Linked DNA regions of Homo sapiens: regions 1, 2 and 4 are each linked to region 3. Evidence: promoter capture Hi-C in 16 types of primary human blood cells and fetal thymus (Javierre and others, 2016). All regions are on one chromosome and are shown on one strand. The core of a region is centred on a gene start or on the middle of the fragment in contact, and the rest is flanking DNA. Distances in the headings are between cores, read along the strand shown.

Region 1 (3,433 bases), core at 754-3,253, 150 kb before region 3:
TGCCAAAAGTAGGGACCAACCAAGGTATCCTTCAGTAGGTGAACAGATAAACTGAGACATCCAGACCATGAAATATTCAGTACTAAAAGGAAATGTGTGCTATCAGTCATGAAAAGACATGAAGGAAACTTACATACATATTGCTAAGTGAAAGAAGCAAATCTGAAAAGGCTACACACTATTATAATTCCAACTATGCAATATCCTTGAAAAGTAAAACTATGAAGACAATAAAACAATCAGTGGTTGCCAAGGGTTGGGGAGACAGAGGGATGAACAGGAAGAGCACTGAGGATTTTCATGGCAGTGAAACTGCTTTGTATGAAACTATATCAGAGGATATGTACCATTGTACATTTGTTAAAACCCGTAGAATATACAACACTCAGAGGAAACACTAATATAAACCAGGAACTTTGGGTGATAATGATACCTCAAGGTAGGTTACTCACTCAACTGTAATAAACGTATCATCCTGGTGGGGTATGTTGATAATGGGAGAGGCTACATGTGTGTCGGAGCAGAGGCAATTATGGGAAATTTCTACTTACTCTGCTCAACTTTGCTATGAACCTAACATTTCTTTTAAAAACAGTCTGCTTTTAAACACACACACACACACACACACACACACACACACACACACACACAAATCATGGAATACAGCTAATGCTGTCTGGAGAGAAATTTTTTAATTAAAGATTAATTTTCTCAGCAACTAAATTTAGAAGACAAAGAATATGAGAATAAACTCAGAAATTTTAAGAAAAAGACAAAGCTAACAAAATAGAGAAGAAAGATACAATGGAAATAAACAAAAGGAAATGCTTTGGAAAGACTATGAAATTGTCAAATCCTTGGTAATATTTACCAAATGAAAAAATAATGTAAAAGCAATCAATCATTATGAAATAAACTAAATAAAGCACAAGGGGAGACATAAGTACAGATACAGCGAGGTTAAACATATAATAGACTACTGTGAACATTTTTGTTATGGGCTGAATTTTGTCCCTTCAGAAATTCATATGTTGAAGTCCTAACCTGTAGAGCCTCAGAATATTGAGACTCTATTTAGAGATAGGGACTTCAGAAGAGGTAATTATGATAAAATAAGGTCATATGGGTAGATCCTACTTCAATGGCTGGTGTTCTTATAAGAAGAGGAGATTAGGACACAAAGACACACAGAAAAAAAAGACCACGTGAAGGCACAGGGTGAAGACAGCCATTTCCAAGCCAGAGAGGGGGCCTCAGAAAAAAATCCACCCTGCTGAGACCTTATCTTGGACTTCTAGCCCTCAGAAATGTGAGAAAATAAATTTCGGTTGTTTAAGTCATGAAATCTGTGGTACTGTGTTATGCAGCCCTAGCAAACTAGTACAATCTTACCCTAATGCATTTGAAAGCTTACAATAAACCAAATACAATTTATCAAATCTGACTCAAGAAGAAACTGAAAACCTGGTCTTATTACCATTAAAAATTGAATTTTAAGTTCAAATTTTACCCACAAAAAGCCACTCATCCCAGATAAATGGGTTCTACCAAATCCTTAAAGAGTAGATAATTGTTTATGCACATTCTTCCAAAAGATAGAAAAAGATTCTAACATAGCTACCAAAACCCAGTCAGAATATTTTTTTAAAAGTTACAGCCAATCTCACTTATGAAAATAGATGCAAATATCCTATATAAAATATTACTAAACATATCCCAGTGGGATATAAAATTATCATGATGAAGTTGAATAGAAAAAGCATTAAACATATTTATAAATTCAACAAAACTAAATATTAAATCAAAATAAAAAGTAAAAATCTACCATCTCAGAGAAAATAATTTCTATACATTTAATCAATCCTGAATATCTACCCCATCATCCCTACCAAAAAAGATGACCATTCAATAGAAAAATGGTCAAAAGACAAAAATGATTCCAAAGAAGCTGAAGTCCAAATAATCAATAAACATATGAACCATTAATAACAAAATGCAATTAAAACTACAGTGAGACACTATTTAACGCACACCAGATTGAAAAATCTTCAAATGTCAGCAGACACCCACAGTTAGTACGGACGTGGTAAAATGGGACTATTAAACAGTACTATTTAGGAACTGTTGCAGGCTGGGCACAGTGGCTCACACCTGTAATTCCAGCACTCTGAGAGGCCAAGACAGGAGGATCACTTGAGGCCAGAAGTTCGAAACCAGCCTGGGCAACGTGGCAAAACCTTGTCTCTATAAAAAATACAAAAATTAGCCGGGCGTGGTGATGCCTGCCTGAAGTCCCAGCTACTTGGGATATGGAGGCAGGAGGATTGCTTGAGCCAGGGCAGTTGAGGCTACAGTGAGCTGTGTTTGTGTCACTGCACTCCAGCCTGGGAGACAAAGACCCTGTCTCAGAAACAAACAAACAAACAAACAAAAAACTATTGCAACTACATGGGAAAACAATTGGACATTATCCAGGAGAGTTGAAAATTTCTCTACAATCCAGCAATTCTACTTCTGGGTATATATTCCAGAGAAAATCTTCTATATTTGTACCAGGACACATTTAAACGACTCTTCATAGCAGGTTTAAGATAGCAAAAAGCTTAAAAGAATAGGAATGTCCATTGCTGAAAAATGGATAAATTATGGTGTAGTCATAAAATAGAATTCTATTCATTTGTGGAAATAAATAATCTTACCTATACGCATCAATGTGAATGAATATCAAAAACAACAATGTCAAGTAAAAAAAGCAGATCATAAAAATATAAACAGTATGGTACTATTCATATGTCTCAAAACAAACAAAAGTAAATGATACATAGTTTGAACATGTACTTATATATGATGAAAAGAAAGGAAATTATAATACAAAATTCAGGATAAATGGTTATGTGTGAGACTGCTACTGTCTGAATGTGTCCCTCCAAAATTCGTGTTGAATCCTAATCTCCACTGCAGTGGTAATAAGAGGCGGTGCCTTTTAGGAGGTGATTTACGAAGCTGCCTTGTCCCTTCTGCCAAGAGAAAATGCAGCTAAGAGTAACCCCTGGCCAGACACTGAATCTGCTGGAGAGTTCATCTCGGACTTCCCAGCTTCCAAACTCTGAGCAATACATTTCTAGTATTTATAAATTACTCAGTCTAAGGTATTTTGTTACAGCAGCCCAGACAGGCTAAGAAAGGGACTAAAAGGGGTCTTGAAAAAAAATACTGGAAACAATCTACTTTTTTAAGTTAGGTTTCTCTGTTATCATGGCTTACAACTTACACAGTCAATACATATATATTCTTTTTTATCTTTCAAATACTTAATAAATTATCTCCCCTGTGCTTTGTTGACTAGAGTGATTAATTCTTTTAATTGGTTAAACAAGAACTTTCAAAGTCTGATTTTGAAAAACATTAACTTCATTGACTAGGATTTGCTTTA
Region 2 (3,303 bases), core at 804-3,303, 220 kb before region 3:
ATAATTGTCCTTATTTGTTAACTTCATCTGTCCCCAATTAACAGGTAAAAAACATATTCAAAGCAGTAAATGGTGTCAGCGGTTATTTTGAAGGTAGGGACATGCACACTAATATTCCGTAGGCCACTCTTGTGCTCAACTAGGTCACAGAATGGCCATCTCTTTAAATCAAACTTTGCAGCTACTGTCCAAATTTGGACGAGCATCACCAAAAATTCACTATCCAAGGTTCAGCATGGATTATATACCAAGTGTCTGATTGGCCCTGCCTTAAAAGGAAACATTCCATTTTCTTAGTGTCCATTTTATCTGCTACAAAAATGATTACTTTATAAATGCTATAAAAAACTCAATACATAGCATTTGTACTAGGAGACAGGCACTTACTATACTAATAAATCTCAACACCTTTCCTGGTACTACCCCCTCTGCCTAGAGTGATTCCTCTCATATTTACACTAACCTTTCCAATGCCTAGATCAGTGGTCACCACCTTGGAGCCCTTCTACACCTTGTAAATCAGATATAATCACCCTATGCTTAGAAATCTATTATTTTTAAATACCTATGTTTTTGTACCCGCCCATACTGCTTATGACATACATATATGATGGCAACATAGAAGTATATTTAAGAGCCCAGCTTTTAGTTTATACTATGTACCAAGTTGGACTCTACCATTTATTTGTAGTTAACACCCTGACTGGCAGATCATTCTTAAGACTCAGTTTCTTCAAGGAAGAGAAAGATAGTAATAGTTAACCTCATAAGTTTGTCAGAAGAATTAAATACATGAAATACTAAATCTGGCAAACAGGCAATAAACAAACACTAGCTAATATTTTTATTCCTGCTACAAGTATCCTGCTTTGAGTGTAAACTCTTTGTATTGGAGATTACAGATTATGTATTTGGTGACCCCACAGCATCTAGGCCAATGTCTTGTACATAATAGGTATTCAGAAGGCATTTTAAAAATCAAACTAAGTAAAAAATTCTAAACAAACAATATTTGTTGGGCTTTTCTACTGTGAAGACACAGTGAGAAATGAAAAAAAAAAAATTCCTGACCTTTAGGTCATTAAATGCTTAATCTAGTTAAAAAGCTTAGTCTAGCTAAGGGGTAGTCTTTAAATGCTTAGTCTGGTTATATACACACGTACACATATATACAAACAAATATATACACCAACATCTACACACACACACACCATATACACACACACATATCTATGTATACAGAGAGAGAGAGAGAGATGTATTTTCCTGCCCACACTCACAAAACTAAGTGAAAAGAACCAAGGAACCAGCTCAAAAGGGAATGCAGACTTGGCAAACACAATTATAAGTAAAACTTAAAACATACTTTTTCTTTTTTTCCCCAAATATTCCTCCTTTTGTAACTCCTCTTCTTACTCCTACTCAAATCTTTGTTTCCATGGCAATATTTCTACCTTGAAGTTCCACCACTGAAATGTCTACAACTATGTCTACTGCTCTCTCTTTTAAATTGCTACTAGAAAATTCAATCCTCCAGTCCATGATGTAGATGGACTACATAAATGCCTACTAACTTAAGGCACATTTCTCACCTCATCCCCCAGTACTATACAAGATATTTTTTTTACACAGAACTATTTTAGGCCGATTTTTATACTTGATAAAAAATAAACTCCAAGAATTTCAGACTCTGTGATGTGAGCTAGATATAACCCAAACTCATTGAGACTCAAGCTCTTTACCCAATACAAAGACAACATTTAGAGAGCTACTTAACAATCAAAACTAGAAAATAAGAAAGGATGCCAGTAACAGAATTATCCAACAAGGACTTATTTCTTACCACCTGATCTTGAGTTTGGCTAGACACTGGATTTCTCCTGCCAGAACCCCAGAAGTGTTAAGAGAACCCTAACTGCTATTGTGAGGTTTGAACTGATGAACTCTAAACCGTGCTGCTATTAGACTCTTTAATGTTGCTCGGTTTACTCTTAATTCCTGTTTTGAGTTGTGCTGCCAAAGTTCTGAAGACCTGAAACATGTCATTACCTCTGAATTGAGTTAGTTTGACTACTCTGAAAACCAGTCTGATTCTGGAGAATCCCTGCCAAATGCCACAAGCTAAACGGGTACCCTGGAATCAAACTGTTGGTACTAACTCAAAGAGCACATCTGCTCCTGAGCTTCTGGGAACAAATGGGAGAACTTGTAACTACCCAGGAGCACTGTCCACATCCACAGAGGCCCCCAGATACTTAAAGATTATTTTTAGGAAATCTTGAAGTTCACAGAAAATTCATTGATTTAGTTCAGCTGTTCCTTCAAGAATTCTAACAAGGGAGCTCCTAAAGTGTCACCCAGGATTTACCATGAAAATTCCTAGAATGGTTATCCATAAGTTGAATCAATGCCCTAGAAAATTTGCTAACCCCATGACAGAGGAGTTCTGACTCCTATAACAAAACCTAACAGTAACTAATCCAAAACAACTGCCTTTTATGATGCTGCTAGACTGCACAGAGACAACCTGGATTTTCTCCATTAATCCTGCTGCTGATCTTGATACAGGAAAGAACACTGTCTTTCTCTAAATCCTAAATCTAGAATAGATAGAAAACAAAATGAATCCACAGTAATTTTTTTTAAAAAAAGGTCTAAATTCCCTCAACAATTAAGTCCAAATTAAAATTGGCTACATCACTGTACAGTTTGCCCTAACGGGTAAATAATGCTGTTTATTGTTGCATTTCACTCGTCTCCAATTCCCAACTATATCATTAACATTGCACGCCATATTGTTGTGAATCAATCCTCTAATTTCATTTGAATGCATCCAGAAATCTGGATATTGTAATCAATATATTACAAAAAGCAACATAACTTCATAAGGATTTGCAACATGTTCATTCCTCATGTGAGGTGTTCTAGTACATCAGGGTTGCCCTGCAACCCACTTGGAGATTATATCCTTAGATTCTGAACCCTTAACTGAGAAATATCGAAGCTTATTGCTACTATTATTTCTTTATTATAAATTTTTCTCCCCTGAATTTTCTCAACTTATAGAAAGGAAGTCCGGCCAGCAGCATTAGTTACCCCGCATTCCACTGAGAGAATTTGCTGTCGGGACATCCACTCCCTCTCCGTTCGGGTGCTCTACTGTTAGCATCTTTTCTCCTTCAAATTCAGAAAGATGCAAACTAGCTTGAAAAGCCTGTTCTAAACAATACTGCACAGCAGTGCCAATACTATGAGATGTAACTGGTGCTTGTGCATGCAAATTAATTTAAGTATAAACATACT
Region 3 (3,302 bases), core at 73-2,572:
AGCCCCTGGCTACTTGCATGGACCAGGCACTGTAGCAAGTGACAGTTACACATCATTACGACCAGAGACAATAATGAATGTAGCACCAGGAGCACTATTCATGCCAGCAGTGTCATCTCCGCCTTAACCCCTTCCCCTCCACTCTCTCCAGCGCGCACACACAGCCCACACGGTCCCGGTGCGGAGCTATTCATCCACCCCGCTCGAGGCCGGGGGGCCAACTACTTCCACGAGCCCCCCCTCCCCCCCAAGTTCAGCCCTGGGGTTTTATTTCACATCCTTGGCAACTGTCAGGCAAACACTGCAACCAACAATTCCACTAGGGGTAGAAAAACACTTGCTTAATTCACGTTACTTGATAACTTCTTCTGGAAAAAAAAAATTAGGGGAGGTGGGGAAGAAACCTCCTTCTTTCTTCTCCACGAATCCGACCGACGCTACTTGCTTTGCAACAGCATCGCCCTTCCCCGGCCCCCTCCCGCTTCCCAGCACTTTCCCCCTTTAAGAACACAGACCAACCAAAATGATTTAACTTGAGCAGATGACAGAAGGAAAATAAAACACGTTAAGAGAATACGGTCTGATTTGGGATGGCAAAAAAAAAAAAAAAAGAGGAGGGGGTTGTTTATTTTGATAAGAAACGGAATCGGCACAGACCTGAACAGAAGCTGCAGAGCAGGAGAAATTGTTTTCTTTCCCTCACACAGAGTCCCCCTCTCTCTCTCCCTTTCTCTCTCTCACACGCGCGCGCGCACACACACACACACACTCGCACACACACGGCGTCACCCGCGCACACGCACACGCAGAGCCTCTCAGCGGCTCTCTGCAGTTCTCAGGAAATGAATGGGGGGCAACCCGGGGAACTGTTGTACTTGCAAATGACTTACCCGGATCACATGATGCGCTAAATGTAGGGTGGGCCGGTGGGTGGAGGCTGCCGAGTTGCGAGCCCCGGTCTAGTGTGGGGAGCCTCGCCAGGCCCGCATCGAATTACCCCGGGGCCCAGCCGAGGGGGTTGCAGGACGCCGCTTCTCCTCCCTCGCAGCCCGCAGCTCAGGAAACCGGAGAGGCGCTTGGGGTGGGGTGGGGTGGGGTGCTGTGAGGGGGGGGGCCGAAAACAAGAAACCCCCAAACAAAAGAGCTCCGGGTCCTCCTCCCCAGAAACAAAGCCCCGCCGCTGCCGGCGAGCCCCGGGGTGGGGCCGAGGGCGGGGGCGGCGGCGGGGAGGGGCTCGCTCAGCAGGCGCTAAGTCGCTTTATTGCCATAAAATGGGGCCCCCGAGCCGCTCCGCCCGAGGATTAGGAGGCGGGCTCTGAGTGTGATGGTTGAAATCCCCTGTGGGAAACTAACCCCTCCCCGCTCGCAGAGGTAGAAGGCAACACCCACTGCCCGGCCCTCGCCTCCCCGCCCGGACCGCCGGGCTGGGTCCGCGGCGCCTCCACCCCGCCCCACCCCGCCCCACCCCTGCCCCCGCCCTCCGGCCCCGGGCCTCGGCAGCGCTTCCCTTTCACCTGCACCACTTTGCTGCGGCACCCCAAATAACCCACACATGGCCCTGGGAGCTCGGGGAGTCGTCGGCCGAGGGGGCCCGCGGGGGCTTGCGGCGGGAGGGACCCCTGGAGAGCAACTCGCTGGGCAAGGACTCGCGCCGAGCCGCGAGAAAGTCTCCTCTTTTGTGTCAGAGCGCGCCAGACAGGCTTAGGAGAATTCGGGGACCCAAAAAGCGTGCAGCCCGCTTGGGCCCCCACCCCTCGCCGCACCCGCCCGGGTGGGGGCGCGCAGTGGAGGGAGGGGGCTGTCGCCCGGGTCGTCCCCGCGGCTCGCCCGCCAGCGAACTTGGAAAGGTGTGGGCGGAGCCGGCCGGGACTGTGGGGCAGCTCGCGGGGACCGCCCCTGGGCGCCGGGCATCGCCCGCGCCGGGCAACAATGGGGTCAGGCAGGGGCAGCCCCGCGGGCGGTGCCCCCCGCGCGCCGGTGGGGCGGGCGGAGGGCCGGGCGCGGCAGGCAGGGGAGTCATTGTTTGGGTTCCGGAGCGACGCACGTTGCGGGCGAAGCGGGGGCGCCCCTTTTCCCTGCGCTTCACCTTGGCGGGATGAATGGGGGCGAGGCGGAGATGCGCGCCTGGCCTCGCCACCCCAGCGAAGGGGCCCCTGCCTGCGCCAGTTCTGTGGGAAAGCACGCAAACTTGGAGGACTGGGGCAGAGGAAGCGGGATCTGCAGACCCCCGCGGGGCCCGGGGGCGGCGGGGAAGGGAGTCCAGCTCCACTGCCCCACGCCCAGAGCGGAGCCCCAAGAAGCGGACGGCCCGGAGCCGAGTCCTTGACGCTCTCCCCGGCAGCCCCTCCCTCCCCGCCTCCGCGCCCCGGGGAGCGGATCCGCGGGATTGTGGGGCGGGAGAGGGAGGAGGCGGCCGGGCGGCCCTGCAGTTCCCGCGGCGGCTCGGAGGGCGCGGGGTCAGCGCCGAGCCGGAGGGTCGGCGGGGGCGGGGAGCAGACGGGGCGGAAGCGGCCGGGCGGGCGGGGCGCGCGGCGGACGGAGGCGGGAGGCTGTGGGCCCGCCTCCTCACCATCCTAGGTGAGCGCGGCGCTCCGGGCACGACAGTATTCCCCTGCCCCGCGCCCCCGGCCCGGCCCGCCCCGCGTGGGAAATCGCCAGGGCTGTGGGAAGGCCGGGAAGGGGAAGTTTGTGTGCAGAGAGAAAGCTTTGCTGTACTGTGGCGTGGAGTGGGGTGGGAAGAGAAACAAGGGAGAGGCCGAGAAACAGGAAATGAGAACGAAGGCACGAATGTGAGCCAGGGCCAGCTGGGCTCCCCATCGGTGTGGCGGTTTCCAGCCACTTCAGGCGCGGTGTGCGTTCCTAATGACAACAAAGGCGGCGTCTGCCTGGTGCGTTCTCTGCCTCTTGCCACTCCTAGGTTCTGGGGAAAATGGGATGGGTGGTCCAACCTAGAGGAGGGGTCCCACAGCCTAAGATGCGTCTTAGGAAGGCAGCAGGATTCAGAGGAGGGGTCTGTCCTGGTCTTGAGGTTTCGAAGAGGAAGAAATGTCTGAAATTTGTGGAGCACTGCTCGAGTGAAGTAGCCTCAGCGGCGGGAGCGGGAAGGCGCGGGCGCAGCGAGGGCGTCGGGAACCCAGTGGGACTCGGGGGTGAGGGGTTGGTGGTTGCTGCGGTGCGGTCTCTGTTCCGGGGAATGCAGCCGCAACTCCCACTCCCTGATCCGATCCTGGGCCTAGGGTAAACAGCCCCTTACACTCCACTACACCCGGATGGAAACGACGTGAAAACACAAGTTTGAAAAG
Region 4 (3,027 bases), core at 401-2,900, 150 kb after region 3:
AGGTAGTTTTCTGGATCAGGATGTAAGATGACCAGAAACAACAGCTTTTTCACTTATTAGGCCATATCTGGCCCAGTGGAAACTGTCATGTGTTCATCACCGACATGGCCCTCTCCTTATCTCCATCTAAATTCTTTGTCTACATACTGATCCCAATTCAGCAACAACTCTCTTTCCTTCTTCCACAAGGGAATCTGTCAGCCTAGGTTTTGCATTTTAGGTTTTCCAAGCTAGAATCAAGGCACCAGTCCACAGTGTCCTCCAAACAGCCAAGGACACATATTAAATCCTCGTGGTTGTTCCTTAAAAACCCCCTCTTTTGACTTGAGGCAGAGAGTGAGGACCACATTGCGCTCCAATAGCTGTCTCCAAAAATCCTCCTCAATCTCCACCCGCTGCCTTTTCTCACCTTTTCCTAACTTTTTAAAGGAGGGCTACTATCTCAGAAGCTGCAAAATTAATTTTCTGCCATGGGATATTTTTCAAATCTCATTTTGAAATGTAGCATCTATTAGTTTCAGGCCTCAGCCAAAACAGAGAGAAGATCTTATGTTAATATCCAGTTATAGTGTCACTGTTAAGAACACTAATTAAGGAACTGTTAAGGAATGTTGATTCTCTGGCTCCTCTTATTCAATAAGAAGATACCCCACCACTTTCCATGGTGGGGAGATGACTTTGGCTACTTTTGCCAGGAAGAGGTAATACATCTTTTCCCATGGTTACCCAAGAAGCTCTGGCAGTATCAACTCTAGTGAAACTGGAGACAGCCCGTATCCTTTGACTACATCCATGTACTAGTGGGTCATATTACTCTGCCCAAACAGGTTCTAGACTCATTCTTTCCCTCTTGGACATACCTGTGCTTAAAATCCCCTGGGGGAGAGTCTCTTCCATCACAGCACTGGGATATTAAACCATAATGGGACGTAGGAAGCCCCACTGTGCACTTTAATTTAGTTGATGCTAGACAGCTCTTTCTAAAAGTAATGCATTTGGCTCTGATCTTTGTACTTAGACTCTTGGCCTTCTATCCTGAATGTAAAGTATTTTACATTCTGACTTCTATGACTTCCACCCTAAATGGAAGAAATGTTATGTAACTCCCCAAAACTAACCATGCATATTGGCAAAGTGTGGTTTAACTTTTGGTGGGTAAGAAAAATTTTTTTTTTCTGCACAACAATTTAGTATCTCTCACAATGGTTTGAAATAAACAGAAATTTTGTTCATTTTTTTTTTTTTTAGTCATAAGTGCTCTTTGAGGAATATATTAAGGGCTAAACTTAATTCAGCACAGTAAAGTGTTGAACTGAATCAGCATGTTAAGCACAGTAATGGGAACATCAGTTCTGTAACCAATGAACAAAATGGTAAAACACATGTCAGTTTTGGAGTTTAGCTTGAACAAAAAACATGTGGTACAGGAAAACACATCAGGTGGTTGTCCCATAGTGGACTCAATAGAAAAAGAGCACGGAGTACATAATGGACATTGTCAAGTGTTGTTAAACTAGTTTGATTTGAGATTTTAAGGACCCTCAAGTTCCATGTTAAAAAGTTTTGACTTATTCTCATGGTTAAAGGGGATCTAAGTCTTGGGCAAATTTATGAGAGAAGGTGAAAGTCTCTAAGAGCAGAGGGATGCACAAGAATGTTATCTTAAGCACAGAGGACCAGAAGTGTTGAATAACTTTGGTCTGGACAATGGGACAAGGAAGAGATTTTAGTAATATTTCTTGTTAGCAGCCTCTGTAGCATATCCTTAGGGTTGCAAATGGGCTTACAAACCTTCCTTTTAAAATTTATCCTGAGTGGTTGGTGAGCATATTAATAATTGTTATCATCTATTAAATTCTATTGTCACATAAATAATTACCAATCCTCACAACAATGCTGCAAGCCAGTCTCATATCTCCTTTACACATTAGGACACAGTTGCTCAGAGAAGTTAAGAAACATGTCCAAGTTTCCAAAAGCATGACTGCAACCTGATATGGTCTAATGATCTTTTTGGGTAGAGTGTAATGACCAGTTTTGTCCTTGCTACACCCAATACAGAAGTCCCTGAAACCACTGGAAACAGGTTAAACAGTCTGTTCCTTAGACTTCTGAGTAAAGGTGTGGTCAGGGAAGTGAGCTTGCCTTATTATCTGATTTACCCTTAAGCCATATAAAAATACACACTGGAAATTTACACATCTATACACAGATTGTTTCTCATGGTGGTGAAAACTGTGCAACTTTGTCAGTAGTCAGGGAGGCTAATGAAAGAGACCCAATGGGGAAACCCATCTTGGGATCAAAACATGATCTCTGGTCACATTCTCTAGTTTTCTGCAAGTTGGTGGTAGAAAGTACCCTCGTGGTGTACCCTTGTGGATGGAGTCAGAGCAGTGAAAGAACCTTTGGTTTTCCACCACCCTGTGAAAATCATAGCAAATACTGTTTCGTGAATTTTTCTATCTACCCTTTTCCCTAACAGATGACGAACTGTATGTAGAAACTACACCATACTCATCTTTTTTTTCTTTTTTCTTTTTTTTTTTTTTTTGCCAAGGACTGTGCCATAAAAACTGGCACAGAAAAAGGGAGGAAAACAAACTCAAGAATATACTAACCTTATCTGGAACCACAATCAGATAGCCACTACTTTTGATATGTCTGATACTCTCTCCCACAACTACTTTACAGTGGGGTGAAAACTATTTGTAATCCATTACTAATGGGTTCTTATGCTTCTCCTAGACTTATAACTCCCATGGTCTTGTATATAATATCTATACTTTGTTGTATTTTATTTTTCTGCACATTTTTCTTTCATCTTCCCCCTTTTAGATCTCATTTTAAAAAGAATGATTTTTAAAACTCTCTTCTCTATTTTTTTTTAAAAAGTATTATCTTAAGACACCCACACACTATTTCTTACCACATTTCATGAGTTGTTCTGGTAGAAATTATACTTGCTGGGAATGTATTGGCCTTCCCTGCTGGGATGATGAAGTAGTTTTGCACTGACTGTCATCA

Evidence for each region. The method cuts DNA at HindIII sites, captures the fragments that hold promoters and counts their contacts. A CHiCAGO score of 5 or more calls a contact.
Region 1: a fragment that was not itself captured here is called in contact with the fragment with the promoter of KLF12 in region 3 in 1 of 17 cell types (total CD8 T cells); the score reaches 5.3 in total CD8 T cells.
Region 2: a fragment that was not itself captured here is called in contact with the fragment with the promoter of KLF12 in region 3 in 1 of 17 cell types (non-activated CD4 T cells); the score reaches 5.0 in non-activated CD4 T cells.
Region 4: a contact is called between a fragment that was not itself captured here and the fragment with the promoter of KLF12 in region 3, in 2 of 17 cell types (naive CD8 T cells and total CD8 T cells). The highest score is 5.4, in naive CD8 T cells.

Annotation. Positions count from the first base shown.
Region 1 is chr13:73,978,749-73,982,181 of GRCh38, forward strand. The region is part of intron 2 of KLF12 (KLF transcription factor 12); the gene reads right to left. Among named protein-coding and RNA genes, the nearest start is that of KLF12, 150 kb to the right of the region's middle. The HindIII fragment of the contact is 1,193 bases long and covers 1,408-2,600 here.
Region 2 is chr13:73,916,883-73,920,185 of GRCh38, forward strand. The region is part of intron 3 of KLF12 (KLF transcription factor 12); the gene reads right to left. Among named protein-coding and RNA genes, the nearest start is that of KLF12, 220 kb to the right of the region's middle. The HindIII fragment of the contact is 1,898 bases long and covers 1,105-3,002 here.
Region 3 is chr13:74,133,082-74,136,383 of GRCh38, forward strand. It overlaps KLF12 (KLF transcription factor 12), which reads right to left and starts at 1,323. Exons shown (of 8, transcript NM_001400136.1): 1 at 891-1,323. RefSeq lists an enhancer at 11-60 and a silencer at 1,070-2,819. The HindIII fragment of the contact is 3,671 bases long and covers 1-2,702 here.
Region 4 is chr13:74,278,288-74,281,314 of GRCh38, forward strand. It overlaps a transcript of KLF12 not described here. Among named protein-coding and RNA genes, the nearest start is that of LINC00402, 48 kb to the left of the region's middle. The HindIII fragment of the contact is 8,951 bases long and covers 1-3,027 here.